Linked DNA regions of Homo sapiens: region 1 is linked to region 2. Evidence: promoter capture Hi-C in human tissues and cell types (Jung and others, 2019). All regions are on one chromosome and are shown on one strand. Each heading gives the region's core, a stretch centred on a gene start or on the middle of the fragment in contact. The rest is flanking DNA. Distances are from core to core; before and after follow the strand shown.

The links. Contacts are between HindIII fragments. The study calls those that stand out against the background at their distance.
Region 1: a contact is called between a fragment that was not itself captured here and the fragment with the promoter of DCDC2C in region 2, in 1 of the 25 tissues and cell types used here (IMR-90 fibroblasts).

What each region holds. Positions count from the first base shown.
Region 1 is chr2:2,062,254-2,065,428 of GRCh38, reverse strand. All of the region lies in intron 3 of MYT1L (myelin transcription factor 1 like), which reads left to right. Among named protein-coding and RNA genes, the nearest start is that of MYT1L-AS1, 260 kb to the left of the region's middle. The HindIII fragment of the contact is 5,658 bases long and covers 1-3,175 here.
Region 2 is chr2:3,702,248-3,705,577 of GRCh38, reverse strand. It overlaps DCDC2C (doublecortin domain containing 2C), which reads right to left and starts at 2,003. Exons shown (of 11, transcript NM_001287444.2): 1 at 1,540-2,003. The coding sequence starts at 1,826. ALLC (allantoicase) reads right to left here. Exons shown (of 12, transcript NM_018436.4): 12 at 2,907-3,215. The coding sequence ends at 3,015. LOC105373393 (a long non-coding RNA gene) reads left to right here and starts at 2,078. Exons shown (of 3, transcript XR_922732.1): 1 at 2,078-2,119; 2 at 2,464-2,770; 3 at 2,939-3,018. The HindIII fragment of the contact is 5,865 bases long and covers 1-3,330 here.

The DNA.
Region 1 (3,175 bases), core at 460-2,959, 1.6 Mb after region 2:
GGATTAATGCATACAGCAAGGTAACAGAGGAGATGTGCTGTCAAGGTTTTTATATTGCTATAAATTCTAACTTTGAATATATTTGTGACTTTGTAGCCATTAATTTGGGGTATTATAATTATTTTAAAATTTTTTTAATCTTTGATTTGAATAGTGTAGCTATAACTATACTACTATAATGTGATGAGGTTTTAGAAGTACATTTGATTTTTTTGTTTGTTTTCTTTTTTTGAAACAGGATCTTGCCCTGTAGCCCAGGCTGGAGTGCAGTGGCACTATCATGGCTCACGGCAGCCTCAATCTTCCGGGCCCAAGTTATGCTTCTACCTCAGTGTCTTAAGTAGCTGGGACCACAGGCGTGTGCCACCAAGACTGGCTACCATTTTTATTTTTCTAGAGATGGCCTCTCCCTATGTTTCCCAGGCTGGTCTCCAACTCTTGGTCTCAAGTGATCTTCCCAACTTAGCCTCTCAAAGTGCTGGGATTTCAGGCAGGCACAAGAGTCACTGTACCTGGTCATACACTCATTTCTTAATTTTGACTTTATTACATCTAAACACCAAAATACTTTAATCAGGAATCGTTTCATATTTCATAATGAAAATAAATGAGGAAAAGTTATTTCATTGAAAATTTTACTTTCCAACAAGCTTTTCTGAAATGTATTTTTATTTCACTAAAATAGAAATATCTGTCTTTTTCTACATTAATTCTATTAGATATGTTATATGTTTCATAATATTCTCAGTGATTTCATCTAAACAGTTGAAGATTGTCAATAACTTATATTGTTTCTAATTCAGAATTGTATAGATTATTGCACTGAAAAAACTCACAAAAAACTCCCTGAGCAATATCTTAAAGTCTCCTCTCTGTACACAGATACTTTCAGTCTCCCTCAGGGAGGTCATGATAATTATGTCCTTGATGTGTTCATCCTGGGAAACCTACACCGTATCTACATTTCAGGATGTCAGAGTCCTTCCCTCCACCTGATCTTGAAAACTTCACTTCCCCATGTTCTCCTGGACAACTTCTATCCTGTTAACAACTGGAAATCATCAAACCTTACTGTGATGGTGTGGACTCCATTTCACCTGCTGTTAGGACACAGTCTCCCAAGCAAGGTACTCAGGGGGTCTGAAGCTAGGTCTTGAGCTGGCTCCAACTCAACCAGGTCTAGGCACTGACCTCGTGTTTGCCCCAAGTGGCTTCTGGGAGTGAAGAGGAATAATGTGAAGTCTGCCCATCGTATGTGGTTTCACACTTGCCATTTTCTATAGCCCCTTTCTCTGGGCTTCTCCCCTCCTCAGTTCTGCTGTCAATACTTAAAGAATACAGATATCACATACAAACTGACCTGTGTGTCTAAAGAGCTTAGTTTTAAATAATGGGTATTAAACAACCTTTTGTTCAAGGCTCTCTACATTAAATTTCTAGAGATTCTTATGTGTCCGATCTCATGGCATGAATATCTAGTGTTAACATCTTTAGTGTAGACAGCCTCAAGCAAGGAGACCTGTAGAGATATGTTAGGAATTATCAAGGAAACGTGGTTTTTATGTTGTTTGTTTTGTTTTTTTTGAGACAGAGTTTCACTCTTGTCACCCAGGCTGGAGTGCAATGGTGCAATCTCAGCTCACTGTAACCTCTACCTCCCAGGTTCAAGCGATTCTCCTCCCTCAGCATACCGAGTAGCTGGGATTACAGGCACGTGTCATCACTCCCAGCTAATTTTTATATTTTTAGTAGAGACAGGGTTTCATCATGTTGGCCAAGCTGGTCTCAAACTCCCGACCGCAGGTGATCCACCCACCTTGGCCTCCCAAAGTTCTGGGATTACAGGCGTGAGCCGCTGCGCCTGGCCATGTTCTTTTTTTTAATCCAAGTTCATGTCATCTGGCTCAGAATCCAGTTCTTGGCTGTATGCTCTGGGGGCACAGGCACCCCTAGTCAGGAGCCCAGGAGGCAAAGCACACAAAGACCCCCGACAGGTCAGAAGGCCCCGCCCATGTGAAAAGGGTTTCCAGGAGGCTTTCTAATGCTGTCTTGTTAAATATGAACAGATAATGAAGATCTCTAGATGTTCGTGCAAGCCCTGTAATATAAAAAGGACCCAAACAAACAAAAAAGAAGAAAATAAAGACTGTTGAAGAGAAACAAAGAAGTTATCATTGACTTTGTCTGAGTCACAGAAGAGAAGCTACATTGGGTTTGCTGAATGAGAACACATTTATTTTAAGTAGAAGAAGGAGAAGATGAGTTGAATCACTAAGAGATCACTTAGAAATTTAAAGATGAGTGTTGAAATTTAAATTTAAAAAATCTCACAAGAGAGGTGAGAAGATAAAGGAAATCTGATTAGAACAAAATGGCAAAGGGATGGAAAATAAGATTGGAGGGTCTGTCCAGCTCCCGCAGGACCATTGGCTGAATCGTGTAAGTTCCAGAAAGAGATCAGAGAAAATGGAGAGAAAACAACCACTGAAGAAAGCAGGGAAGACGATGGCCCTTGAAAAGCTGAAGGATATGTCACATGATGGGAGAAAACAGATCTACACACCCCCTCATTCTTGGGAAATACTAAAACACTAGAAGCAAAGAGAAAATTATGACGACTCTGGGCATGAGGGTCTAGGGGAAAGGATTCAAAGAATCCTCAAGAGGTAAGAAGACGAGGGAGAAACGCCATCAGACCTCCAGGGAAGTTCTCTCTCATCTAGACTGTTTTGCTCAGACAAATATTAGTTGGGTGTCAAGACAAAAATAGACATTTTAACATTGAGGAATCATTAAAAATCTCCCAACAACCTTTCCATAGGAAGCGTGGGATTATGTCTTCCACCAAATCAAACAAAGAAACAGAAAACCAACAACAAGTAAATCAAGACAGAGGAAGACAGGGATGCAGCAAAAAGGAGAGAGATTACAAGAGATGGGGCAGGGACTGGGTGATGGCCAAGGGGCATCATTACAGCCCAAGCTTTCAAGAGAACCAGTGTGGACGAGGCCAGATGGGAGGACACGGACGGCTCCCTGAGACTTTACACAGAACACCAAATTGATACCTAAGCTGTTCTTCCCTAAGAAGAAGATAGGACGTAATTGGGAATTTGGGATAGAGTCATGATAAGTACATAGGACAGCGTGTGTACATGGACACAATTATATTAAT
Region 2 (3,330 bases), core at 754-3,253:
TTTTACAAGAAAATGTCTTGGGATAAAATTAAATACTTTTCATTATATATGTATCGAAAGGGACTTTAAAGGCAGTTTTTGTAGAGATATATTCTTTAATTGTAAATCAGCACTGAACACTGGATCCTGGGTAGGATGTCAGTTCTAGATATTCACACCATCTGACTAGCTTGGAAAAAATAATCACAAATCACATGGCTATAAAGGAATATAATTTTGTCCATGAATTCTAATACATAACAGGATTATCATAGTAATAAATTTCAATCTGAAATATGCTAATCCAGATTCTACCTCTTAGCAACTGTGATGCCTGTGACTTACGACTTTTCTTCAGAAACAACTGAATGGTAAATTCACATCTTTGCAAATGCCACTAAGAATTTGGAACCATACACCAGCCCTCATACTAAATCCTACTACTTTTTCAAAAAACAACAAACAAAACTCAAGCTGCTGATTTAATTCAGAGCATTTTTGAACGGAGAGCATTTGAAAGAAGAAAATGGAAATTCTCTCTGGGGAATCTCACTTTTATCTCAGCCCTGAAGAATGTCCCCACACAAAGCTATACAAAAGGAGTAGTTCACAGTCAAAAAATAAGTAAACCTACAAGGAAACAGAGAATCAGGAGAGAAAAGCAGCTGAGATCACAGAAAGCAGACACAGGCTGCAATAATGGGATTACAGACACAAACCGTGGGAGGGCAATAGTTTAATTAAAGGCAAGCTTGAAAATGCACGCAGGACCAAGTGATGGACACAGAGTGAGAGGGGTCACCCTGAGCGATTTCAAATGGGAACTGCCCAACCCGCCCCATTCCCAGGCCCTGCCCCCCACGCCCCTCCCCCCCACGCCCCTCCCCCCTCCCCCTCCCCTACACTCCTCCCCACGCCCCCCACGCCCCTCTCCACACCCCTCCCCCATGCCCCTCTCCACACCCCTCCCCCACGCCCCTCTCCACACCCCTCCCCCACGCCCCCCACGCCCCTCTCCACACCCCTCCCCCATGCCCTCCTCCACACCCGTTTCTGCCCCATGCCCCTCCCCCACGCCCCTCCCCCCTCCCCCTCCCCTACACTCCTCCCCACGCCCCCCACGCCCCTCTCCACACCCCTCCCCCATGCCCCTCTCCACACCCCTCCCCCACGCCCCTCTCCACACCCCTCCCCCACGCCCCCCACGCCCCTCTCCACACCCCTCCCCCACGCCCTCCTCCACACCCCTGTTTCTGCCCCACGCCCCTCCCCCACGCCCTCCTGGCCGTCTCTGGGGCGGTCCTGAATCGCTGCCGGCCAGGGCCCGCCCTGCCCCATAGGAAGGGACCCTGGGGGCGGGGCTGCCTCGGCTTCGCCCCCAGGAAACCACGTGGCCTGGGGCGGCCCGACGCCGGCTGCGCTGGATCCACGCCGAAAGATGGGCGCCCGAGCCGGGAGGGAAGCCTGGGGAGGACACCTGGGGGGCACGGCCCTGACCACGCTCAGACCCAAGAGGGCGGGGAGGGGCGCAGGGCGCGTGGGGGGCGCGGGCGCACTTACTCGAGCTCCTTGAAGCGCTCGCGGCCCGCCGCCACGTACTTGCCGCCCGCCTGCAGCGCGTCCAGCCCCAGCACCCGGTGCCCACGCGTGGGCGTGAAGAGGCGGCGCACGCCGAACGGGACGTCCACCTGCTCCGTGAGCTGCTCCAGCAGCGCCTCGAAGGTGGCCGCGCGGCGCCGCGACAGCACGAACTTCTTGCCCACGTAGAACGGGTCCCCGTTGCGGTACACCACGATGGTCTTGGCGGGCGTGGTGTCCACCGGCGCGGAGGGCCCGCGGGTTCCCATAGCCGCGCCCCGCTCCTCGCTCGCCGGGGCCGAGAGGCTGCGGCAGCGCGGGCAGCGACGCCTGCAGAGCCGCGCCCAGGCCCGGGCACCGCCGACGGGAGGTCCGCTCCAGCCGCTGGCGCAGGACGGGGACGGGACGGGGACGGGACGGGGGCTGGACGGGGACGGGACGGGGCTGCCAGGCGGGCGGAGGCTGCGTGTTGACGCGACCCTGGGCGATTGTGACCGCCTGGCCGCCAGGGCGAGGGGCTCGGGGCCGGGGCAGGAGACGGGGCGACGGGGAACCCGGGCAGGTGAGCAGGCGGCACGGGGCAGGGACAGGTGATTGGGTAATGGGGAGCCCAAGCAGGTGAGGCGCGGCACAGGGCGGAGACAGGTGAGGGGGCAACGGGGAGCCCGGGCAGGTGAGGGGCGTGGCGGCAGAGCTCAGGAAAAGAGGAGGAGGAGGCGGCTAGCATGATTGTGCTGAGCGCCCCGGGACGCCCACCGTGCCTCCTCCCCCTACACTCGCCGCCTTCCTCTGTAGAAGCGGTAGAGAGGAGGGTTAGGGAGGGACCAGGACCATCTTGACAATCAACATTGGATGGGTGCTGGGATCTGCTTCACATTTTTTGAGCCTCTGTTTCTTTGATCTTAGGTTGAATTTGACCGGTTCAGCCCCAGTGTCTTCCAGGACTCCTGGCCCAGAGTGGGGAATTTGAGCTTTTCCACCAGAGGAGGAGGTGTGCAGAGCCACTGGGAGGCCGTGAGGAACCGCGCTATAGCCGCTGGTGTGCGGTGTCAGGCGCGTGCCATTCAGAACGCATCCTCATTGGGGAATGATTCAAAGGGAGAGGGGGTCTTTGGAAGAATCGTTCCTACTCTGGGTAAAGATAGGCCAGTCCCCTTGAGTGATTCTAGACAGTCAGTAGGCTACATGTTACGGCTGGAAGTCCACACCGAAGGTACAGATATTGATATTATGAGTATTAATATCTTATAATGTTCAAAAAAAGTAGTTCCGTAGAGACCACCAGTCACAGCCATAGCCAGTATGTAAGCTACTAAATGCCTCATAGCAACATTAAATACAGAGATCAATTTGTGAGACGACCACTTTATTAAATCACCAGGTGTTCAAAACATTTGAAAAGAAGACTATGACTGGGAAATTACTGCTGTGTGTCCGACACCGGGGCTTTGTGTGTGTTAAGGGTTTGCTTTGAAGCTCACCGAGAACTTCAACATGGGCTTCTCCCGGGGCCTCAGGAGGCAGATGGAGCTGGGGAAGCCCCGGAGCCGAAGGCGGCTCACTCCCCCGTCGGGGACGATGGTGAGCCTGGCGTGAGTGATGACATCTTGGAGCTCTAGGGTCAGGCTATCGAACAGATGACTTTGGTTGGGAGACAACTGAAAAGCAAGCAGATGCAGAGGTCCTAGTCTGTTAACAGGACATGTGTGGCCGAATGAGCCCACGGCCCGGGCAAACCTTTGGCTTAGACTTAACCGAAGGGGCTTTAAAATA